7 separate regions of the Homo sapiens genome follow, and regions 1, 3, 4, 5, 6 and 7 are each linked to region 2. The links are contacts of gene promoters, found by promoter capture Hi-C in blood cells and fetal thymus (Javierre and others, 2016). All regions are on one chromosome and are shown on one strand. Each heading gives the region's core, a stretch centred on a gene start or on the middle of the fragment in contact. The rest is flanking DNA. Distances are from core to core; before and after follow the strand shown. Region 1 has its middle 9.7 kb from the start of MBNL2. Region 2 holds the start of MIR17HG (miR-17-92a-1 cluster host gene). Region 3 overlaps RAP2A (RAP2A, member of RAS oncogene family). Region 4 overlaps IPO5 (importin 5). Region 5 has its middle 8.1 kb from the start of RAP2A. Region 6 overlaps MBNL2 (muscleblind like splicing regulator 2). Region 7 overlaps IPO5 (importin 5).

The links. The method cuts DNA at HindIII sites, captures the fragments that hold promoters and counts their contacts. A CHiCAGO score of 5 or more calls a contact.
Region 1: a contact is called between a fragment that was not itself captured here and the fragment with the promoter of MIR17HG in region 2, in 1 of 17 cell types (non-activated CD4 T cells). The highest score is 6.0, in non-activated CD4 T cells.
Region 3: a contact is called between a fragment that was not itself captured here and the fragment with the promoter of MIR17HG in region 2, in 1 of 17 cell types (fetal thymus). The highest score is 6.5, in fetal thymus.
Region 4: a fragment that was not itself captured here is called in contact with the fragment with the promoter of MIR17HG in region 2 in 1 of 17 cell types (M0 macrophages); the score reaches 5.4 in M0 macrophages.
Region 5: a fragment that was not itself captured here is called in contact with the fragment with the promoter of MIR17HG in region 2 in 2 of 17 cell types (activated CD4 T cells and naive CD8 T cells); the score reaches 7.2 in activated CD4 T cells.
Region 6: a contact is called between a fragment that was not itself captured here and the fragment with the promoter of MIR17HG in region 2, in 1 of 17 cell types (total CD8 T cells). The highest score is 5.2, in total CD8 T cells.
Region 7: a contact is called between a fragment that was not itself captured here and the fragment with the promoter of MIR17HG in region 2, in 1 of 17 cell types (naive CD8 T cells). The highest score is 5.5, in naive CD8 T cells.

Annotation. Positions count from the first base shown.
Region 1 is chr13:97,210,881-97,214,335 of GRCh38, forward strand. It overlaps a transcript of MBNL2 not described here. Among named protein-coding and RNA genes, the nearest start is that of MBNL2, 9.7 kb to the right of the region's middle. The HindIII fragment of the contact is 879 bases long and covers 1,138-2,016 here.
Region 2 is chr13:91,346,272-91,349,924 of GRCh38, forward strand. MIR17HG (miR-17-92a-1 cluster host gene) reads left to right here and starts at 1,416. Exons shown (of 3, transcript NR_197388.1): 1 at 1,416-1,688; 2 at 3,427-3,499. RefSeq lists enhancers at 905-984, 2,454-3,001, 3,002-3,549 and silencers at 1,085-1,864, 1,915-2,904. The HindIII fragment of the contact is 6,871 bases long and covers 1-3,653 here.
Region 3 is chr13:97,440,921-97,444,201 of GRCh38, forward strand. All of the region lies in intron 1 of RAP2A (RAP2A, member of RAS oncogene family), which reads left to right. Among named protein-coding and RNA genes, the nearest start is that of RAP2A, 8.4 kb to the left of the region's middle. The HindIII fragment of the contact is 7,461 bases long and covers 1-3,281 here.
Region 4 is chr13:97,968,539-97,971,940 of GRCh38, forward strand. It overlaps IPO5 (importin 5), which reads left to right. Exons shown (of 29, transcript NM_002271.6): 3 at 1,185-1,292. Among named protein-coding and RNA genes, the nearest start is that of IPO5, 17 kb to the left of the region's middle. The HindIII fragment of the contact is 4,000 bases long and covers 1-3,402 here.
Region 5 is chr13:97,424,191-97,427,960 of GRCh38, forward strand. No RefSeq gene overlaps it. Among named protein-coding and RNA genes, the nearest start is that of RAP2A, 8.1 kb to the right of the region's middle. The HindIII fragment of the contact is 3,782 bases long and covers 1-3,587 here.
Region 6 is chr13:97,228,407-97,232,153 of GRCh38, forward strand. The region is part of intron 1 of MBNL2 (muscleblind like splicing regulator 2); the gene reads left to right. Among named protein-coding and RNA genes, the nearest start is that of MBNL2, 7.9 kb to the left of the region's middle. The HindIII fragment of the contact is 3,354 bases long and covers 745-3,747 here.
Region 7 is chr13:97,986,899-97,990,167 of GRCh38, forward strand. It overlaps IPO5 (importin 5), which reads left to right. Exons shown (of 29, transcript NM_002271.6): 7 at 2,164-2,266; 8 at 3,228-3,269. It also overlaps the pseudogene FTLP8. Among named protein-coding and RNA genes, the nearest start is that of IPO5, 35 kb to the left of the region's middle. The HindIII fragment of the contact is 3,878 bases long and covers 1-3,269 here.

The sequences.
Region 1 (3,455 bases), core at 327-2,826, 5.9 Mb after region 2:
ACTCAGTCCAGTTCCTGGTGTGGGAAGGATTTCTGGCTGCTGTGATTTAGTGACTTGGGTATATGGGATTTTTGTGTATGGAGAAGAGGGGTGGTGAAAGGGTAGCAGGGAGAGGAAGGCAGGGGTTGGGTGGGGTGAGGGAAGGGGTGAGGTACATAACATTTGATGCATGATCTGACACCCTATGAGAATCCTCATTGAAATTTTGAGGAGCCACAAACTTCCAGGGAGTTAAAATCTTTTCTGTCTTTTACAAAAGTAAGCCTTGTCTTGCTGTCTGCTTCCTCATCTTCAAATAAGAAGCTAGGGTGTAGATGAAAGATTTCTTCTAGCCCTAGGATCCATGATTGTAAGCTCACCATAATCGTCTCAGGATTGGACTGCTTTGCGAAATAAAATCATTCTATTTGTAAGTGATTAGGCTTGTTGGAGAGGTTGGCAATCCCATGGGTTGGGGGTATAGAGCAGGAGTGTGTGGGCCTGAGCTTGAGAGAGACGAGGGTTGCAGGCAAAGCTGCAGCAAAAACTGGAGTAGAAAAAGCACAATTCTCATTTTGTTTTGCTGTGGAAAAGGGACCTGCTAACAGAGTTCAAGATTAGAATGACTCAGTGAATATTTAAGTATGGTTATTTCTTCCTTTTTCATTAAGCCTTCTAAATGCAGAGATCTATAAAGCTGTGGCTTGAGATTTTAGAGAAAGAATGCAGTGACATGAGACCAAAATGATGTGAGGTGATGACATCAGCATCAGAATGCTGTTGCTAAGGTGAGCCTGTTTTTCTCTCTAATCCAGCTGGAAGGCAAAATAATTGCCCATTTCTGGTAAAGAATATACCCATGACATGATCCCTTTTCTGTAGCAGATAAAACAAAGCCAGATGCCTTCTCTTTGCACAAATTATTTTAAAAATAAAGATTAAAATTTCATTATAAAACATAGCACATGTCCTTGGGAGAATAGGCAGAACATTTTACGTAAGTTTGAAATTTTAATTTATCAAGACTATATGCCGAGATCTAAATGGATATCGGAATGAGTTAGTGTGATGAATCTACTGGGAAAGAGATAGCAGTATTTTGGATTTAGGGAAAGGGGAGATGGGGAAATATCTAAAGGTGTCAAAGAAAGATCTCCAAGCTTATGGTGGCTGATAGAGGGAAGAGAGTGAGGAAAGTCCTGGATTTGAAGAAAGACAGGCAGAAGCCACCGTGCTATGGCTCTTGATAATGGTGCCCTTTGTACAAAGAGAACAGTATCAGTGGAATTCAGAAACAAGGGGTGGGACTCAGGCAAACTAGAGGCCAAAGTGGTTGCATGCAGAAGTCCCTCCCACATGAACGTTTTCCAGAATTGCTCCTGGGGTTTGAATATTCTGCTTGGAACACACTTCTCCAGAGATTTCTATTCATTTGACAGTGGAAACACACTCCCTCACCCCTACATGTCTCTGTTCAGAGGGCGCTTTCTGCATGAGCCTGTCCTGGCCCCACGGTAGAAGCCACAGCTACCCCCACAGTAGAAGCCACAGCTACCCCCTCCCAGCTCCACCTGATTGCCTGATCCCCTCTACCAGGCCCAAATTCTCCTTTTCCTTTTACTTTTTTCTTTGCACTTAGCACCTTCTGATTTGCCATATAATTTTTCTATTACATTTAGAGCCAGTGAGGTGTCGCAGTAGAGAACATGGCCTCTGAAGCCAGCCTGCCTGGGGCAAATGGGCTGCACCACCTGCCAGCTGTGCGACCCTGGAAAGGTTACTTAATCATTCAGGTGTTTTCCCATCTGTAAACCTGAGATAATAATAGTGTCATGGATTTCACACAATAGCATTGTGCTTGACTCAGTATAATCACTATGTACATATTTAATAAATAGATGTCTCTCTTTGTCGTCAACACTATGTGAGCACCCCAGAAGTGCTTGTCATGAGTAGCATTTGATGGAGGAAAGAGATGAGTAACACATTTTCCAGAAATTGATGTTTTCGCTGAAACATGGAATTTAGACAGGGTTAAGCTTTGGAAGGGTAGTTATGCCCATAGGTCACTAGACAGCTACCAAGGGCCCTCTACTGGTCAGAAAAACCCGGGCAAATCTTCTCTAAGATTTGCCTGAGGAGAAAGGCTACTGTGAAGATCTGGTCCAGACAGGAGATCCTGGAGCCACAGGGACTTCCCAGATAACCATGGTTGTGAGAAACAAATAGAAAGTAGCATTGAGGTGTGCTAGATGCCTCAAGTTAGTAAAGCTAAGGACCTCAGTCAAGTAAGAACATATAGCATCAAATAAAAGAGGTTGAGTTGAATGAGGTTGAATAGAGGTGACAAAGAAAGATCTAGAAGCTATGGTTGTTGACAGAAGAGAGTGAGGGAAGTTCTGAATGTGAAGAAAGATAGGCAGAAGCAGAGATGGACACGGTCTAATGAACAGGAAAAAAAAACCATTTTACCTGGGCCAGAGTTTTCCAAAATAAAACCCCCAAGAACACCATACTAGTTAGATTTCTTTTTTTAAGTAAAAGAGCCTCTGGTAAAATTAATTCTCAGACACAGTGAACTAGAAAACCCCGTCTTGGAAATTTGCAATGCACATTCCCAGAATCAAGGCTCTGAGAGGTCCTTCGGTAAAAACACACATTTAATGAGTGATTTCAACGGTTTCCAAACTTAGCCCTGGGTCCTTTTCTTCAGAAACATTTGAGATGAGTGCCCAGAGATCTCACTTTGGGGATCATGTGAAATAATGTGAGATTCTCGGGGTCCCATCTACATCTTGCTTATCTTTACATCATGAATGTTTCAATTGGGACCAACATGTAGCAAGTCACGTGATAAACCCTAATCAGATGAGTGAACAAGTGGATCTAGGTAGGGTGGTGATCCTAAAATAAACAGAAAGAGATGGAGAGGGGAATAGGAGCACTGACAAGTCTTTCCTTCAGGAACGGTATATTGTAGTAAATCAAAACCAGTTGCATTTAATTTTTAAAGTCAAGATTGTCATCACACTACAATAACACACATGCTATATGCTTCATCTATTCCCCACGTCCATTCCATACTCCCTGTTGGAGATGACAATGTCTTCATCAGGCAGCAGGCTCACATACTTCCACTGCTACAGAGACTCCTACAATCTCACCACAGTCTTGTGCTAGAACCCACCCACTTCTGAACCGTTGAAGAACAAGTTACGTTATTCTCATTCCATTAAAGAAAAGGTTATTAAAGACCCTTTGATTCCATTAAAAACTCTTTGTAGGGATCTAAGCTGCTCATCAAGCATCAAAGAAATAGAAAATCCTGATTCTGCCATAGCATACACTATTTGGTGACACCAAAGTGATACTCTCAATTGGTAGTTTTGACTTTTCGACTCTTTCCTGGTTTTTTAAAACTTGGCTTTAATGACCCTTGGAAGTCCCTTAGAAATGCCACATTAGCTTTGATCCTT
Region 2 (3,653 bases), core at 166-2,665:
TGATGAACAATCTTACTCACAACATCCCCCCGCCTCAACCATTCTAATTTGAAACAGAAGATAAAGTTTTAAAGAAAAAGGCATTGACATATTAGTCAATGCCGACCAAAAGTAACGTAAAATTAGACTTGTAATAAAATTAGCAGTGTTTTCCTCTTTGAAACGTTCATAAATGACTATATTACAGAAATATTAGATATTGTAAAATTTCAGATTTGGCCTTTTATTTTGATTTACAAAGAAAGGAATATCTAGAAACTAGACTCAATAAAAAAAAGAGTAGCAAAACTTTAATCCACTATTTTTTATGTCATCACTAGTTTGACAATTGGATTTAAGCAAAGCATGATAAAATAAGTCAAAGACAGTAAATGACAATACTGTCAAGGTTTGAATGTCAAAAATTTTAACATTGGGGCATTAAAGACATCCTTTGGTAATGTGTGTTTTACAGTTGACTTGTACAATCACGAACCAGTGATATGTGCTTTGCAGTAGCTACTTACTAGATTTAAACCAATTTATAATTGCTGTATTTCTCGTAAATGTTATGAATCCTCACTTTTAACAATTATGTTTCTGAGAATTCCGGAATTTCCTGAACCACAATGTGAAGAAGGAGGTGCTCCTGATTGGGCTTCTTTTCTCAGCTTTGTGGTTGTTTATGAGGTTCTTTCCGAGCTATGCTATTTCTACTGGAGAACCCAGAGTTCTTACTAAATGCAGCTGGGCATGAGAGGGGAGGCTCAGGTACTGCAGCTGTGAAACCTCTGCTCGGGCATGCGTTTTGGTTTACACGCGGCCAGGTTAAGGAAACACATTGCCACGAAGTGTGCATTCACAAGAGTGTCGGGTGTAATGTATTTATTTCTGGGTCTCAAACGATCTTTGCAGCGAGTAATTCTGTTTCGATGTTAAAGTCACTGGATTTTACTTCTCTGGTTCCGGTTGGCCTGGAGCAGGCCCCTAATTACCTCGGAAACCCACCAAGGGCCGGTAAAGTAATAAACTGTGATCGCACAGCGTACACGTCGAGTCCCAGGGAGAGCAGGGCTCCCAGGAAGCCCCGGGAAGCGTGCGCTTCCAGGAGGGTGTGCGGCGCGCGGGGGTCTGCACGCGCGCAGAGCTTGTTAACGGAGGGCGTGCCGGAGGCGTGGCGCGAGGTGTTCGGGCGAGGCGCTCCGCGAGGCTGGCGGCGGTGGGCGGGCCACGGGGGAGCGCGGCCCGGGGAAGGCTGCGCGGCGCCGCCAGCGGCTCCCGGCTCCCGCTCTCCCGGCCGCCAAGAACGAGCCGCCGTGGGCGGGGCCTGCGGTGATTGGCGGGCGGGCGGGGAGGTCGGAAGTACTTTGTTTTTTATGCTAATGAGGGAGTGGGGCTTGTCCGTATTTACGTTGAGGCGGGAGCCGCCGCCCTTCATTCACCCACATGGTCCTTCGAGGTGCCGCCGCCGCCGCCCGACCTGCGCCTTCGCGCCACTTCGCGCCCTCGGGCGAGGCCGAGGGGGTGGGGACGACTACCGCAGCGCCGCCGGGGCTCGCGCTCCTCCGCGAAGCTCTCCTCGCGGGGCGGGCCGGCCGGCCGCACCCCCGGCCTGGGGCCTCCGGTCGTAGTAAAGCGCAGGCGGGCGGGGAGGCGGGAGCAGGAGCCCGCGGCCGGCCAGCCGAAGATGGTGGCGGCTACTCCTCCTGGTGAGTCTGCCCGCCCCTCCGGCGACGGAGGGAAACCTGTTGTGTGCGGCCCGGGTCTGGCGGGCGGGGCGGAGCGGCCCGGGGCGGACTGGCCCGGGGCAGCGTGGCGGCGGCGGCGTGGCCGGGGCGGGTCTCGGCCGTTGGCCGCCCCGGCGTGTGGCAGCCGCATCTGGCTGCCCCCTCGCTCGCCCGCGGGCCGGCGGAGGGGGGCAGGGCCGGGGCGGGAGGGTGGGAGGGGGCGGCGTGCGCGTGGCGGCCGCGCCCGGGACCCGCGCAGACCCTGCCTGGGCCGACCCGAAGGCGGGTGGGCGGACGGCGAACACAATGGCCCCTCGGGGAGAGGACGTGCGAGGCCCGTGCCTTCTCCGGGGCCCGGGGCGCGCGCGGGGCGTGGGGTCTCTGGGTAGGAAAGTTTCTCCCGAGGGCGAGAGTTAAAGCGCCTCCAGAACAAAGCGGCGGCGGCGGCGGCACATGGGGCAGGCCGCGGGCCGGGAGGGGGCGCGCCCACGAGGTACCTGCGCGCCAGCGGGCGGCGTGGCGTGGGCGGGAGCCCGCGGTTCCCCAAACTTTGTACGCGCGAGGGTGGGCGGAGGGGCGCCGAGATCGGCGCGGCCTGGGCGCCACCCCCGCTCCGCGTGGGCTTTGTTAGCCCGCGTGGGCAGCCTCGGGGCGGGGCCCGCAACTTCCCCGCCGTGGCCCTCGGAGGAGGCCGCAGTCGGCCTCAGCCGCGGCGTGGAGCCGCCTGCGCCCGGCCGCTTGCTGGGAGTGTGGCGCGGGAGGGCCAGCCCGGCTCGGCGGGAGCGGCGTCCCCGCCGCCATGTTCCTGCGGGGCGGGCTGCACGGGGGTGAGGGCGGGGGACATGGCGGCGACTGCGCGCCGCCGCCGATTGTTCCCGGCTTAGGCCTCGGGCCGCGTGCGACGGGCACCGCGGCCGCGGAGCCCCCGCCCCTCTGGGCCGGGCTCGGGGGGGCTGGGGGACACAAAGGAGGGGCGGCGCGCCCGCGTCCCCGCCGCACTCGGGCCTCGGCGCCGCCGGTCGCCGCGCGGCTGCCGCCGGGAAACGGGTTGGGGGGGTTGCCGCGTCCGGCGGGGCCTGACTCTGACCCGCCGCCCCCTGGCGGCTACGCGGAGAATCGCAGGGCCGCGCTCCCCCTTGTGCGACATGTGCTGCCGGCCCGGGCTCCATGAGCGTGGCGGGCACTTTGCAGTCTCGGGTGTTCCTGCCCGGTCTTCTGTTCCTAAACTGCAGCAAAGGGAAAAGGAACTGAAAAAGGCAGGCTCGTCGTTGCAATATCACCAAAAGAGAAAATTAACGGCATGCCATCAGGACCACAGCAGTTGGAGAAACAACTCTTTATCCCGGCTTGCAGCCACGAGGTCTTGATTGGGGGAGGGGTGGTGAAGAATAGTCTGTGGGCTGCTTTTTTTTTTTCCTTTTACTGGAGCTGTACAGTGGAGTCGGTGATTGCTGCTGATCATAATCAAGTATTTTAGGAGCTTATTTAGACATGTATCTGATAGCTAAGGATTTTTCAACTTTATTCTCTTACGTATTTTTCAACTGTAAATTATTGGGCTTTTAAATCCTGCTAGTATTGCTCGACTCTTACTCTCACAAATGGATGGAATTAATTGCTGTTAGGAGGTTGGAAAATAGCAAATATAGATTTGGACGGTGGTAGTAATTTTGAGCAAATAATGTTTTATCTTTTTTTTCCTTATTTTTCCCTATTCCAGTCATACACGTGGACCTAACTGCACCAGTAGCTTTTCTGAGAATACTTGCTGAAAAGGAAGTTTTCTGGAATGGGTAAGTGTATTCTGATTTTCTTGAACTTTTCTTAAAAACAAATTTTTCTTGCTATTAAAGTTGAATAAATAGGATTGGTTTCTTAGAGAGTAAAAGTAGGTGTTTCTTTCTTTAGACAATGTACCTTTTCTGAAAAACTAACTCATTAAGTACG
Region 3 (3,281 bases), core at 117-2,616, 6.1 Mb after region 2:
CAGATGTCTGGGACTTACTTATCTTGCATAACTGAACTTCATACAGTGAATCACTTTATGTGGCCCAGAAGTTTTTCCTGAAAAGGAAACTTTTGTTTTGGCTGCATTGTAAAATTACAGGTTACAGTATATAGTTTTCTTTTTGCCACTCCAGGATTGTAATTTTTAAAGCTCAATTTGGAGTTGGAGGAGATGATGTCTCTTCCTCTCTAACATTCTGTGAGAGCACTTTTGTCTGGCCGGGGTGATGAGGGAAGGGGTCAAGTTTAATATGAACCTTAAAGAATCAGCAGCCTGTGACCCACAATTTTGTCTAGTTAAGATTTGATAATTGTATCAATAAAATCTACAATAAGGAATAATTATACTAATACTTATTTTTTAATGGAGGGCAAAAATAATTTAAATTATTAAACATTAAGGAAGAGGTAGAGGAACTAAGAAAAATCACTGGATTTCACAGCCAACAGGAAGAGCCAACAAAGTTGGAATCTATTTGCTAAAGTTTCAGTAGCAATATACTTGAGTGATTTAATTTCTGTGTGTGAAGTTCTGGGAAATTACATATGGCACAATAAGGTGCATATATTATGCATGTATATGTACATATTTTTAAGCAAGGATCTTTACATAAAACCAAGTACACTGTACTTAAGGGAATTTTTTTTCAGGGGTATTTTTTTCTTTTCAGTTCTCTTTTAGTCATTGTCTTTAGAACCTTACTGCCTAGGGGAGCATGTATGCCTTACTCTGGGGTTTTCTTTGCTTCTGTTTTGATTTTTCCCTGTTTTCTGTTTCTCTCCATCTATTCTTACCTACTGTTTTTTTACACACTTATATTTTTCAGGCCTATGTTGTAAAAAGAGTTTTAAGTACTCTAAGTTTTTTTGGAGTAATAAGAGTTTGAATACGAGCAGACTTTCAAACAAGGTAAAACTGATGGTGACTGAATAGTTACTAAAGGAAATGTATAGATATTGTGTTTATGTAGGAAATTTATCTTGAAATTTTAATGGTGTGCAGAAATATGCCATATATTATATATTGCCATTTCATTTGTTACTTTGACACTTGTGGTTCATATCATTAAAAATTATTCTCAGCCTGACAGAGAGAAGTTTAATTTCTTAAACATCCTTTCTGCTTTACCAGATCAAACTCAGCCTTTTAGTAGAGTAATATCAATAATAGTAATGCTGTAATTGTGGACATCTGCATTTCAGTCAAGTATGTTAAATAAAGCATAAATATATTAGTAAAATTTAAAGTAATCAAAATAACTAAAAACAATATTTGAAGATTCTAATACATAATCTAGCTAAGATTTTGTCATGGTATGTATTAAATTCTTTCTCTGGCATAATTGTATAGATGGGGATTTGTTTTTGTTTTTTATTTCTCTAATACATTTAAGATTTTAAAACATACCAAAATTTATATTTAGGGAGAAATAAGGTGACTTATAATTTTTATTTTTAAATTGTTATCTGTCAAAAAGCCAAATATTGGAAAAAATTAATAACTATCTCTATTTTTATAGATCCACTCAGCAGGGGATTTCACATTTTCTTAACCAGGGCCCTCAGTAAGAAGTACATTTTATATTGTGACTTAGTGCACACATAGGAATAAATACATCTAGCCGAAATCAACATTTCATAAGACAGTAAACTTGCTATGTTGCTTGTATTACTTTTTCTATTTATTTTTTTCTATTTTATTTCGTTGTTTTTAAGTGCTTTTCATGACCCACCAAATTGATTTTATCACACATAGCTTGGAAACTGCTATCCTAGGACATTTTTACTCTAAGAAAACTAAATGTAACTATCTGTTTAATATTTCATCTTCTCTCTCCTGCTTTTCTGGTTCCCAGCAATGCTGTGTAAGATTACGAAAATGAAGTACTTCCCAATGTGAGTTAGTAAATACTACCTGTAATTCAGAGAAAGATAGCATTTAGTCACTGAACAAAAAGATATAGCATATCTTTTGAGAAAGCATTTATCTCTGTTGTGCATATTAGAAATATGAGAATGTATTTCTCATGTAATGTTGTTCATTCTAGTAATTCAAGATAACTTTTGCCTTGTGAAAACTTAGAACAGAGAAAGGGAGGTTGTGGTAGTATTCAGACTTGAATACATGAGTGCGGGATTATCTATTTCAAGAACAGTTGCTGAGGAGGTTCAGAAAACTCAAAATAGAGGTCTGCTGCATCTATCCAGGATAACACTGATTCACCTCTCCCTGTAAGACAGTAAAACTATAAATATCTTAAAATCACTTAGTAAAGTTACCCAAGAGAAACATTGAAAAACCTTTATTTAAAACATTTAGGAGTGTTCTCATGCTTTCCTGACCCTTAGAAATTAATAATTCAAATGTGGAAATACTATATTAATAATTCAATGCATATTAGTATTTTCTCTACTAAGTATCTTTACAGCTCTCTCTCTGTAAATGAAATCTTAGAGTATTTTAAGAGACAGGGTCTTGTTCTGTTGCCCAGGCTGGAGTGCAGCGGCGCCATCAGAGCTTACTGCAGCCTCTAACTCCTGGGCTCAAGCAACCCTTCTGCCTCAGCCATCTGAATAGCTAGGACTACAGAGCAGGCACCACCGCATCCAAGTAATTCTTTAAAAATTTTTTCTAGAGATGGGATCTTGTTATTTTGCCCAGGCTGGTCTCAAACTCCTGGCCTCAAGTGTTCCGACTACCTCAACTGCCCAAAGCACTGGGATTACAGGCCTGAGCCACTGCCCCTGGTCCTAAATTAATTCATCTTTAGGTTTCCAATGAACATTATGAATACTGTATGTATTATAATTCTCGAATGGAGTATTTTATTGTATATACTTATCTTCTCATCCATGAAGACAGCGAATGTTAATCTCATTAAAGCTGAGATCCAGCACTTATTAGTTATGTAATTAGGAGCAAGTTGACATTCCTTGCATTTTAATTTCCTCATTTGTAATATGAGTATGATGTAGTAACTCGTGAGATAACGAACGTAAAGTGTTTCTTTACATAGTGAACCTAAAATATTAATAATAAAGTTTCACCAAGAATCACAGAAATAGGAATGAAACCCAGCCTTTTATCTGTATACTGCCACGTGACTTCTTAGGAATTAGGCTCAATTGTCTTACTATATTGAGATGAATTATATACCTAGTATAGTATAACATTTCTGTTTTTCCCATTGCTTTCTCCTCTGTGTTTTAAGTGCTCTAACACTACGTTATAGAACTTATAGCATAGACCTTGAGTGCTTT
Region 4 (3,402 bases), core at 492-2,991, 6.6 Mb after region 2:
ATGTATTTTGGTGCTGTTAGGCACATGTGTTTAAAACTGTTCTATCTTCCTGATTGAATTTTTTATTATAAAAATGTCCTCTTTATCTCTAATGACATTTTTTGTCTTAAAATCTATTTTGTCTAAAATTAAGAGAGCCATTCCACCTGCTTTTGTTTTTTTGTCTTTTTGAGATGGAGTCTTGCTCCGTCACCCAGGCTGGAGTGCAGTGGCACCATCTCGGCTCATTACAGCCTCTGCCTCCCAGGTTCAAACAGTTCTCGTATCTCAGCCTCCCAGGTAACAGAGTACAGCCGCCTGCCACTACACCCAGCTAACATTTGTATTTTTAGTAGAGACGGGGTTTCACCATGTTTGCCAGGCTGGTCTTGAACTCCCGACCTCAAGTGATCCACCCACCCTGGCCTCCCAAAGTGCTGGGATTACAGGCGCCTGCCACTACGCCTAGCTAAAGTTTGTATTTTTAGTAAAAACGGGTTTTCTCTATGTTGGCCAGGCTGCGTATCTGCTTTTGAATACTGTTTGCATGGTGTGTCTTTTTCTATCCTTTTACTTTCAACCTATTTGTGTTCTAAGAAAAATCATTTAACTTAGAAATGAAATCTTTCTGCTAAGTATATATATATATATATATATATTTTTTTTTTTTTTTTTTTTTTTTGATACGTAGTCTCGCTCTGTCACCCAGGCTGGTGAGCAGTGGCGCGATCTCAGCTCACCGCAAGCTCTGCCTCCCAGGTTCACACCATTCTCCTGCTTCAGCCTCCCGAGTAGCTGGGACTACAGGTGCCCACCACCACGCCCAGCTAATTTTTTTGTATTTTTAGTAGAGACGGGGTTTTACCGTGTTAGCCAGGATGGTCTCCATCTCCTGACCTCGTGATCCGCCTGCCTTGGCCTCCCAAAGTGCTGGGATTATAGGCGTGAGCCACTGCACCCGGCCTCTGCTAAGTATATTTTTATTTCAGGTATTAAAATGCAACAAATGATTTTTAAAAATCCATTTACCACTTTTAAATGAAAACAACATCAAGAAAAGGTATTTTTATTTTCTCCAACTCTTAACCAGTCTTTGATTTAACTGATAAGGATTTATTCTTCAAAATCAGATGTGATTTTTAAGAATATCATCTTCAAAATTAAGTACCATCTAATGGTCCACCATTCTGTTTCTGTCAAATCAGCAGAGGAAAGAAATTCCTAAGGGAACACTGCTCAGAAAGTACTGCAGCATGTCTTCAAATGCCTGAGGATCAAGTTGGAAAACTAGAAGCAACAGAAAACACAATAAGGTAACTGATTTCACCTGGGGAAAAGTCACTTCCTGTTTTGTTTTTTTTAAAAGAGACAAGGTCTCGCCATGTTGCCCAGGCTGGTCTCGAACTCCTGGTCTCAGGCAATCCTCCCACCTCAGCCTCCCAAAGTGCTGGGATTACAGGCGTGAGCCATCACACCCAGCCAAAAGTCACTTCCTAAATGTCAATGTACAAAGTATGTAGGACACCTATGTGTAGCTAGTTGGCTATTTTATTCTCCAGCAAAGCACTGCCCAATCGAAATATAATATGAGCCACAAATACAAATCACATATGCAATTTTAAAATTTCTAGTAGCCATATTTTTAACAAGTAAAAAAAAGTGAAATTAATACATTTAACAATAGTTTATCAATAAATATAACTATTTTATTTAACACAATATATTAACATTTCTACATGTGACCAATATAAAATTGTTATTCTTAATTTCCTACTAAGTCTTTGAAATTTACTGTGTATTTTACACTTAAAATATATCTCAGGCCAGGCTCAGTGGCTCACGCCTGTAATCCCAGCACTTTGGGAGGCCGAGGCGGGTGGATCACGAGGTCAGGAGTTCGAGACAAGCCTGGCCAAGATGGTGAAACCCCGTCTCTACTAAAAATAAAAAAAAATTAGCCGGGCATGGTGGCGGGCGCCTGTAATCCCAGCTACTTGGGGGGCTGAGGCAGGAGAATCGCTTGAACCCGGGAGGCAGAGGTTGCAGTGAGCTGAAATCGTGCCACTGCACTCCAGCCTGGGCGACAGAGTGGGACTCCGTCGCAAAAAAAAAGAAAAAAGCATACCTCAGTTCAAACACGCCATATTTCAATTGGTCAACAGTCATAATGGCTAGTGGCTACCATAATGAGCATTGCAACTGTAGCATTGAAAGCCAGAAATAGCCTTTAATAGCTCTGTGATAATCAAATCAAACTTGATTTTTTTCTTAACCACAATTATGATGCATTCCTGTAACATGACCACTTATATAATGAGAATATAAAAATGCAATAGTCTAACAGGTAGATGTCCAATCAAAATTAAAGTTACAAATTTTAGAGGTTGCAATCTGTATTAGCAATCACAGCCACTATCTATTAAGCATTTACTCTGTGCCCGGCACTACTGCCAGGTATTTTAATCAGTAGTAAAAAATACTTCTATTACACCCATTTCAGAGAAGAAGAAACTGGGCTTGAGACAGGTTACCTTGGGCAAGATCACACAGCATGTAGGCTGTGAAGCTATCATTTGAACTTGCACATTGGCCGGCTCTGGAGCCTCTGCTCCCAGCCTCCCTAAAATGAGTCCCTCCATCTGCAGATATCCACTGAATCTCAAATATAAAACTAAGAAAGGGCGCAAAAGAAAACAATCAAGTCAAAATTTCCCTGCCTGTGTTCCATTCCACAATTTACTGAGGGCCTATTGTGCACAGTGTCCTTCAGGATTGTTAGGGTCCCACTTGCCCCTGGCTGAGGTGCACTGACTGTATGTAACAGACTGCTTCAGAGCAGGAACTTGAAAGTTTTGATAAAAAGCAGTTGAAAAAAATGTGAATATTTCAGCATATTTTCAATAATTTTTCAACCATTCAAACTTTTTTTGCTGGCTCTTATCTAGGCAACAGAAAACATCAGTATTAGAGTCAGAAATCTTACTTATCAGCCAAGTGTCTATTGAATATCTGTAATCCATTCCATACACTATTTCACTCTGCACAATTGGGAGACTAATAGAAAATACGCAAGTAGATTTTATATAAACACAAATGTGATGCACATGACTATGCATCAGCTGCAGCCTTAAGAGTAATTACTTGTTTAAGGCCAGGCGCGGTGGCTCAAGCCTGTAACCCCAGCACTTTGGGAGGCCGAGGTAGGAGGATCGCTTGAGCCCAGGAGTTCAAGACTGTCCTGGGCAATATAGCAAGACCCCATCTCTAAAAAAACAAACAAAAAGAGTAATTACTTGTTTAAGGTCACATTTAACTCCCAAATCCATCTTACTAATAAAAGAGATAATTATTGAGTATCTACTTATGCAGACACCATACTATGTGAATTTACATATATTATCCTAACTTTCAAAACACTCCTAT
Region 5 (3,770 bases), core at 447-2,946, 6.1 Mb after region 2:
TGTAAGTTTTTATATATTTTTCTAATTTTTTTTAACCTTGATGACTCATATCTTTTAAAACTCGTTTGCCTTGGTGATTTGTTTTATTCTCGTTGGTTTTTTTTTTTTTTTTAACCAGTTAGAATTGCCCTATTGGCTATTTTTGATTCAAATAGAAGTGGAAGTGATTCTTTTTAAGAATGATTTCACACACAATGAGATAGAGAAAATGGGAGTTTTTCTATATTTTCCATTACTTTATCACATTCAGCAGTTGTTTCTGTTTTAGTATAAGGATTTGGTTAGAACATTAAAAATGACTGCTTAAAGGATGAGACCCCATTGCAGTTCTTGTGAATTAAAGCCTATATTACTGTTTTATGAAGAATAATACTGTTTAAAATTTCACATTGTTATGATTTCATATAGTTTAGAGTTTCAGTTCAAAGTTGAAAAACACCATTGATTTCCCTTCAATAGAGAGAATCATTTGATAATTTGAAAATTAAGCATACTTTTCATAACATTTAATGTTTTATATTTAATCCAATTCATTCAGCATTTATTGAATATATACTATTGACTAAAGCATAATAAAGATTAGAAAGATGAAAAAACTTATAGATTCTCCACCCTCCTCCCCATCAGACATCCATGAGTCCATATACTAGCTGAAATCACAAAGATAAATACAATGCAAGACAAATTGCAGTACATATGAGAAGAAAAGTATAACATTTTTGGAAAATATGGTGAGAGATTAGTTTAAGGAAAACAGGGGGAGGTGGAATTTAAGTTAAATTCTGGATTTGGGGTAGGCCATCTCATTAGTCAGTATCCTTGGTAAAAATTTCCAAGATCACCAGTTACTTTAAGTGTGACTTTTACTTCAGAAAACACATAGTATTGTTAAATTGATTTTCAACCCAGAGGCAAGTCAGAATCATTTAGAGGATTTTGTTCAATATACACATTCCCAACCCTCCTTCCCCCAGACTATTCACTGATGAGACTTGGGAAGGATTTGGGCATTAACAATGCTCCCCCTACCCCAACCCTAACACACACAGAGCCAGACAAAGTGTGAATGCCAAGGTGAAATCTATTTAAAGAGATGTACACCAATGTGCAACACAGTTTCTGAAAAAACTTATTTTGAATAGATAATGTTAAGGTTTCTTGAAACAATCTATTTGACCCTAAAACTGGAAATGTATTAATATAGATCATTTTTATTGAAGGTTTTCTTATTTTTATTTATCTTGTATGTATTTATGAAATGTACTTTAGTCCTTCTGGAATCAAGTGGAGGAAAAAAACAAAATAGATATGTTAAAATAGAGATCATAAGACTAATGGAACAGACTCCTTGTGGCAATAAAGTACCAAATAATAAATGAGACCTAAGGCCATGCCAGAAAAAGCTGAAGTCACGTACCCCTACCCTTATAGAATAAACTATGCTCTAATTGCCACAGGTTTTTCTTATTCTCTAGCAGCTAAACAAGCACTGGCCTCAAGATAAGCAGTATTGAAACAATCGTAGCTCACTGAGCACCAGATGCTGACTAACTGACCCCTCTGTTCCACAAGCCACAGCTACAGCTTTGATTGGATAAAAGACTGATTTCAGTAACTTTCTCCTGATAAGAGACCACTGACCATCTTCTGGTTCTGTCTGGTTTACAGAGGCTGAGCACTGAGTGCCTTCCTGTCCCTGCTTCACCTTTTGACATATAGGGCTTAATTGGAATGCATTTAAATGTGAAGTCTGCACCCCAAAGTGAACAAGGGATGCATGTAACATCCATGTTTGCTTACTATTCATGCACATGCCCCCTCTTCATGGATATGTATAGCTCCTCCTACAATCTGTTAAATAAATATACTTGGCCAATCCATTCAGCATAAATTCCTATCTCATCCTCCCTTGAATAACTTGCTTTTGGTCTCTGCCTGAGGTTACACTTCCCAGCCAGTTAGGATGGCCACCCTGCTGGCTGCAACTCTTGGTAAGAAATAAAGCTCTCCTCTCCAAATTTATAGATTTCATGATTTTAAGTTGACAGGTAGATGGTAGACATTGAAACAGAGAGCTAGTTAATGTTCGCTATTTCTATGTTTGTGAGAGCCAACATTTAAGGAGTATTATACAAAGCATGGTTAAATGTCTTACTAAGCCTCAGCCCAGCCTCCACCCTATCAATCACATATCCAGATAGAATCCTCGGGCTTAAGAGAGTCTACAGCCCTAATGTAAAGAGCAGCACTGAGCACTTTGAAACTCTGCAACTTTAATATAAAAATCTTAAGAATCATAACCTTACAGCACCACAATTTGTCCATTTTAGTTCCTTTCACTTTGTCAGTGTGCAGTATAGAACTGACTTAATCCATTCCAGCTTTGAAACTAATTGTTGCTTATATAATTTAATTACATTGACAGATTAATATTTCTTAGGTAATTTACATGCAATGTTGTATCTTTTCATTGGAAACATTAGTTTGCATGGAAAATGGCCAAAATCTTTATTAAAAACCTAACACCAGAGACCAGTCCCCAAAAGAATGTAATCAAGACAAAGTATAAAAAAATACTTTAACTTTCCTTGACTACCTGGTACACCAAGGAAATAAAAAGGCTTACTATTTCTGAAATGTCTCCCTCAGCTTCTCTCATTCAAACGTAGACTCTGATCAATTTCACCATCAATGCCATTGCACAGAGACAGCGCTTTGACTAAGTAAACAAGACATCTTTTTCAACTAGTGCAGCCCAATGAATGTGGTTAATAATTAAGTGACTAATATTTTGTAAGGCTGTGTGAGAAGCATTAATTAGGATAATAGTAAAAGATGGTGTACTGTTCTGTGAAAAGCAGGAAACCGATTTTTGAGGAGATAATTCTAGAGAGCAGGATGAGTAACTTCCCTTGACAAGATAACTGGATGGCTGCTGAGAAGAGTTGGATGGTCCTTACACCATAACTCTGCTCTGTCTTCCCCAAGATGCCTCCAAACCATTGCTGAACACAATAATGTGAGAAGCAGAAGAGAAATGGAAGGAATCAGACAAGGCATGCAGCTTCAAAGTTTAAAAAATTCTTATAATCTCATAAAAATTAAAAAGTATTTGAAATAAGTTTAAGAATCTAGTAATTGTAAAGGCTGTTATTTTTCTTGTTACACCATGTGGAGTGATTAACCTTATTGAAACAAATTAATAAGTGTATGACAAAAATACAGTGGATTTCCATGGCCTTCTTATACTCGCTCTGGGCACATACTCATGCCATGACTTATCCCCCAATTTAAACTACGTTCTTCTATTTTACTTTCTTCATTTTCTTTTTCATCCAGGTAAGCATAGTTGCATGCCCCGAAGTTGACAGACTGATGGTACAATTTAACTGTATATCTCCTACTTACATTTTAATTGGAAAAAAATAACTTTTACATCAAAAGACTAAAACCTAAGTGCAGAATTTCAGACAACAGTCAGTTGATAGAAGACATGATTTTTCAGATCTTTCCTGGCACTCCTAAATTCCAGGTCTACAAACTGCCATTGACTTTGCCTGTTGGAGACTTACTGTTTTTGAGATACAAGCTTCTTTGGAGATTAGACCAACTTTGGAGGACATTTACATCAACCTCACCTTGATTTGGGGAAAATCCTTATTCCTTTCCTTTTATTCTCATCTTCTCTGTGTTCAAAACCCAGGGTTTTTAGAAGCAACATTATAGTCCACTCAATTGCTCATTTATTTACAAACATTTTATGAATTCCC
Region 6 (3,747 bases), core at 1,172-3,671, 5.9 Mb after region 2:
TTAAAACTCTCAGATGTACTTTATATAGTTTACATTATAATATGCAAATACTGAGTGTACTAGTGATAGTAACATATATATATCTTACATGTATATATAATTTCAGTTTTTATATTTATTATCTTTTTTTTTTTTTTTTTGAGACAGAGTCGCACTCTGTTGCCCAAGCTGGAGTGCGGTGGCACTATCTCAGCTCACTGCCAACCTCTGCCTCCCAGGTTCAAGCGATTCTCCTGCCTCAGCCTCCCAAGTAGCTGGGATCACAGGCGTGTGTCACCACACCTGGCTAATTTTTGTATTTTTAGTAGAGACAGGGTTTCACCATATTGGCCAGGGTAGTCTCGAACTCCTGACCTCAGGTAATCCACCCGCCTCAGCCTCCCAGAGTGCTGGGATTACAGGTGTGAGCCACTGTTCCTGGCCTATTATCTCTTTTAATGGTCACATTTTGCCCTCTGTTTTACAGATTCAATGAAAACTCAAATTGAGTAAGGTTAAGCAATGTGCTAAAAGTCTCATTGGCCACAAAAGTAGAAATAGTAGTCCTCAAACCTCTGGGAATCCACACGTGATATTTAATGAGATAAATGAAATTAAACTTCAGTCTGACTTGGAGTTTTCTTTTAATGGATGTTGCGTAATTGAGTAGAGCCCAACCCAAGCAATTTTGAGAAGACAGTAATATTTTTAATTAAGATATTGAATTATTCTAAAAATCTATAAATTTCTGGCATCCTAGATGCAAGCTTCAATTAATCAAACTTAAAGTATTGATGCAATATATATTGTCTAAATGATTTACTACATATAATTTTCAGTGTTCTCAGAGTTCAGGAAAGTGGAGCTCAGTTTGGGTGGGAGTAAGAGATAAGGCTTCCCACAGGAAGAGCTGCCTCCTCTGGGTCTGAATGGATGTATTTGGTCTGGATCCATGTCTCTAATGTGGTATGTCCACACCCCGGGCCAAGGGCAAGATTATTCACTTGGCAAGGAAATAGGTGAACTTCCATCTTATATATTATTTAGCTCATCCTTTAAAAATGTCAGTTTTCATGGATGTTTGATAATGTGTGTAACATATTAGCAGGGTTATGCAAGAATAATATTTATAAAGTAACCATCCTTAGTGGTTGTTTCTGATCTAAAAAAAAACATTCTGATAAGAATGTATGATCAAAAATGTTTGGAGAGGCCAGTGGTCAAAATCTCAGGAAGGAGGAATAGCATGATGTGGTATAGTGGCCAGGAAGGAACCTTGACCTTGGAGATGGAGATGAAGTGTTAGGGTGCAGTGGGGAATAAAGTTAGATGGAGGGGGTGGAGTCAGGATATGAATGAGCTGAAGGGCCCTGTGGAAGAGTTTAATTTCATTACCTATAACATCACATCTAATGCTTTATAAAGATTCAATTGGGACTTGTAAGATAGGGTTAGAGGTCAGAACATTTGTAACTAGTGATGTCACCGGCTAGAAAACTTTCACAATATTCCAGGTACAAAGTGGAAAAGGGTTGCATTAGCATGACAAATGAAGGAGAAAGGGCAAATCCAAAAGGCATCTTGAAGGAAAAATAATAGAACGCAGTGAGAGCTTAGAAGAGTGAAACTGGGCCAGGCACAGTGGCTCACGCCTGTAATCCCAGCACTTTGGTAGGCCAAGGTGGGTGGATCACCTGAGGTTGGGAGTTTGAGAGCAGCCTGACCAACATGGTGAAACCCCATCTGTACTAAAAATAGAAAAATTAGCCGGATGTGGTGGCACATGCCTGTGATCCCAGCTACTCGGGAGGCTGAGTCAAGGTAATCCCTTGAACCCAGGAGGCAGAGGTTGCGGTGAGCTGAGGTCACGCCATTGCAGAAATTCTAGGAGGAGTGATATCAATGGTACCCTGACAGAAATGGGAGTGGTCTGAAAAAGGGACCAATAAATGGGAATAGGGTTGAAGGAGGGTGGGCGATGATGAGTTTTTAGACTTGAGAATGGTGTTTTTAGCTAATGATGAAACATCTAAGTGGAGATGTCTCATAAACATTTGACAATGTGGGAATGAAGAACAGCCTGGACAACAGGCTACAAATACAAGCTCAGACACACCTGTGTTGAAGCCGTAGTTGAAGCCATTGGTGCTCACACCTCGTGAAAGAAGGCAGCGTGAACAGAGATAGGCAATGACAAAGGATGAATCTTGGGGAACATGGCAAGGGCCCAAAAGAGAATAAGAGCTAGCAAAGAATCAGAAAAATAAATACCCACAAAGGAGCAAAATTGTTTTTAAAAAATGAACAACCAATACTATTAAGCACCATAGCCTAATCTCCAGGATTCCATAAGAAAACAGTGTAGTCTCCTGGGTTGAACTACTCTCCTGCACATAGCTTTTCCTCTCTGGCAAGGGTTTCTGGCTGTGGTCCTTTTGGGGCAAATATTGGTTCAGAATCTTGTTTAGAGCCACAGAATATTAGATAGTTAAGGGAACCTTTGTAGCTGTATCTCTCGTATATACAGTTGACTTTTTAAAAGTCGATCTTCACTAATAAGCAGAGAGAGTATTTAAAAACCAATAATTATCAATACTTCTGCATCCATCTCTCAAAATGTATATATTTTGGGGATGTTACTGGTTAGAACAGTAATTCCAGAGTGATTGGAGATATCACTTGACACTTGTCATCCTGTTCTCAAAGACCCTGGGGATTCATTTATTTCTGATTCTAGCAGTTCTCAATTGAACCCAGCCATAAGGACTTCTCTGAAGAAAATAGCCTTTCATGATGAGAAAGTACTTGAAGTATGCAAATAGATTGATGCCGTCACACCAGACACCTACCATAAGTAACCAGACAGCACTTCTCAAACTCTCATGTGCCTGCGAATCACCTGGGGATCTCATTAAAAATGTAGACTCTGATTCAGTAGGGCTGGGCTGAGGTCAAGATTCTACATTTGTAACAGGCTCCAGGTGATAAAGCTGATGTTCATCCAGGAGGCTCCAGAATACAATAGCTGCTTTGGAAGTGTCACTGCCACAATGTGAGTGGCAGCAGATCACTGGGTCTGGGATGGCTCCTTGGAGGATCTTCTGGCAGTCTGGAGACTGGGACCTACCTCCTCCACACAGCAGGTCTTTCCAGGCTGTTCAGCCTCAGAGTGAAGCTGAGGTTGAACTGATATATCCCACCAGCCTTGCACCAATGTGGCTGGGGCTGAAGGCATGAAGCCAGGGACTTCAGCAGCTGCAAGCAGTTCTGTGACTACACACAGCCTGTCTCTGGCTATCTCCCCATTCCCGAGACGTCTATCTTCTCAGTGGACACAGACTCTCACAAGTTCCCCAAGAGATTTGGTTACTGCCTCCAGGGAAGGCTGTTGTGTTTATCTGTCTGCTCCAGAGTTGTTTTTTTTTTTATTATCCTAAGGAATATATGCATTATAAACCGGCCTTAGATTCCTTTTCTTCTGGATGGTGGTCAGAACTGGAGCCCAGAAGTCTGATGTGCCTACTTGCATCCTCACATCCTTGGTGAATTAGGTCCAGGAGCTCTGACACATTCATTCCCTAAGATGTAGATAGCGCCATTCTCTCCTCCTCATCTCCAAAGAATGTGAAGGATAGAGAGGAAGGGTTATATGCCATTAACATCGCATTTATTTAAAAAATGCTAGTTTTAAAGTCTTGTAATAGAAACGAAGACATTATGAGAAGAGACAGCTGTCTAACGAAGTAGCTTAAGTGAAATGCCCAGGCC
Region 7 (3,269 bases), core at 601-3,100, 6.6 Mb after region 2:
AAGCTCTGATACATTGAGGGGGACCCTCAGAGGTCACTGGGCTTTTAGTGTTGTTTGATGATGAGCCTTTTGAAGAGACACTTGCCCAGCTCAACATAGGAGCCAACTAGCCTGCGGAGGTTGGTCACGTGGTCACCCATCTTAATGAGTTTCACTTCCTCATCTAGGAAGTGGCTCTCCAAGAAGTCACAGAGATGGGGATCTGTGCAGGCAGAACCCAGGGCATGAAGATCCAACAGGGCCTGGTTCCTGGTACAAGTTCTTCTCCAGGGCCATGACAGCTTCCATGGTGTCTTGGGTTTTGTCCCACTCATCTTCATACTTCCTGCTCGTAGAAGAGAGTGTAGCCACCACTTTTTTTTTTTTTTTAGACAGGGATTTATAAGTGTGGTTGTAAGCGCAGCTTGTTTAGATGGCATTTTTAATAGTTGAAATGAAGATCAAGGTTACATGGGAGATTACTATTGATTGAGCTTACTACATTATGACACTAATTTTAAAATCTCATCAACCAGTAATACAGTAAGTCCTTGTTCAATTCAGCTAGCAGATTGTATCCTTTCTTATGTCAACCATTTCTTAGAAACTAATGGGGAATGTGTCAATTCTTTATATTTTAGATGAGTTCAAATTAATTTTTTTAGACAGTTTTGTTCTGTTGCCCAGGCTTGAGTACAGTGGTGTGATCATGGCTTACCGCAGCCTCCACCTCCCAAGTTTAGGTGATTCTCCTGCCTCAGCCTCCCACACGCCCAGCTAATTTTTGTATTTTTTTAGTAGAGATGGAGCCAACTGGGTTTCACCCTGTTTGCCAGCCTGGTCTCAAATGCCTGACCTCAAATGGTCTGCCCACCTTGGCCTCCCAAAGTGCTGAGATTAGAGGCATGAGCCACAGCGCCCAGCCCTAATTTTGAATATTTTTAAATTGTTTAGAAAATTCTACTTTCCAGTTTTAAGTATGCAGATAGGAATTGTTATAGGTGACATCATTTCTCATTCAGAAACACTTAACAATGCAAACCTTTCCAAAGTATTCAAAGTGCTCTCATAGATTTTTTTTTTTTAAGCTGCTATTTTATTTCCCCTCAAAGCATCATCTTTAGGTTGAAGAAACATTTAATGTCAGCTTAGCAGCACAATTGTCATTTCACAAAAGTTCAAATATCGGGGGACGTTTAAAAAGAAAACATCTGTAATTCATCTGTAAGTTGTATAACTCTTAAGGTCTTTGTGACAATATAACCAGAGTCTTATAAGTGGCACAGTAGATTTTTGTGGTCACTCATTTTTATTATAAAGTATTATTTAAAATCTCTTAATCTTGTTAAATAGTAAACATATTAATAACATCCTCTGGCACTATTTGAACCAAACTGCAAAGTGTGAGCACCCTGTATGGGTCCTGAGATTCTAACCCTGATGTCTTCTCAAGTTCCAAAGTAGTTGTTACTTTGGTTTCAAGACCTTGCCACCAAATACTAGCTTTGCCTACTTTTTCAACTCTTTAATAGCAATGGTATATATAAAGGAGTCAGTCAATCAGATATTTGTACAGTTAAAAGTGCTGCCTTCTCTTCAAATTCCACTCCTTAGAAATAACCTCTGCCAGCCAGGTGCGGTGGCTCACGCCTGTAATCCTAGTACTTTGGAAGGCCAAGGCAAGTGGATCACCCAAGGTCAGGAGTTTGAGACCAGCCTGGCCATCATGGCCAAACCTCGTCTCTACTAAAAATACAAAAATTAGTCAGGCATGGTGGCAGGCGCCTGTAATCCCAGCTACTCGGGAGGCTGAGGCAGGAGAATTGCTTGAACCCTGGAGGCAGAGGTTGCAGTCAACCGAGATCGCGCCATTGCACTCCAGCCTGGGTAAAAAAGTGAAACTCCATCTAAAAAAAAGAAGAACCTCTGTTAATATCTGATTATCTAACCCAAATACAGAGTTGTTTGGTTTGTTGGTTTGTTTGGTCTTTTTTTTTTTTTAACATGATTGTGATGCCATTTTTATGGCTAAAGGACAGAATTTTGTGGAGTTTTTAAAAATAGCAAAAGTGACATTTTTCACTACTCCAGGTTTGAATGAGGCTTATGAAATGAAAGGATTTACTCCTAGTATATTGAAGTTCTGACTTACACAACTTTATGTCTGGATTTCTTTACTTTCAGATGAGGATGGCAATAACCAGTGGCCCGAAGGTTTGAAGTTCCTTTTTGATTCAGTCAGCTCTCAAAATGTGGGACTGCGGGAAGCTGCCCTTCACATTTTCTGGTATATACATTAATCTAGTTTTTTGAGACATTTGATTTAATGAATGCCCTAAACACCTTTTAACTGATTATTTTAGCCTAATTTAACCTTATACTTAAAATGATAATAATGCCTTTACATAAGTTTTGTTTGTATTTGTATTGGAAGCAATTTTTTTTAAAAGGGCCTTTTATTTCACATTATGATCTTTTTTGTACACAAAGGTTCTCTACAGCTTGCTTGCTTTCTCTTTGTCTTTTATGATTCTGAAAGTTTTATTGAACAGTTTCCTCTCCTTTATTTGGAGATTAACACAATACTGGATGTAGCTTTTCAAAAGCCACATTAATAATGGTGTCTTGAAGAGGAGAAGGAGAATGCAGGTGAATCCCCATTATGTTTTCTGGGTCTTGTGTGACCCAATTTTATAATATGTTAAGAAACCTGTATATTTATAACCAAATAGTCTAAGTTTAGAATTAAGTGATTATTCTTTGCCCCACTGTGCTATATTTTTTTACTACACCTAAAATGTGCTCAAGATCATACACATTTTAGGCTTTGTATCATTTTGTACTTTAGTTGTCATATATATCTTTGTTTATATCAGTAATTCAGATTAGAGAATGCAGATGGCCGGAGAGCATAGTTCTTGTAGTTTTCATCTGAAAACCTGTGGTTGCTCTTGTCCCATCCTGCACTCCAGGTCAGCTTTCGACTGAGACAGAGTAATAAGGATAAAAGCATGTAGCTGGGAATGGGCTGCTGAGTAGCCTCTACTCCCAGCCCAGACTTCTCCAGTATGTTTTCATTCACTTAACCCAAAAACAGGATTGCTTAGAGAATGGGTAGATGATGTTCAACCTATGGATTAATGCGTACTGAGTCAGGTAAACAAACAGTTCATTAGAGATTCTAGCTCATACTTTACCAAGATATTAATATAATGTAGTTTTTAAAGAATGTTTGGATTATCTTTTAGGAACTTTCCTGGAATTTTTGGGAACCAGCAACAACACTATTT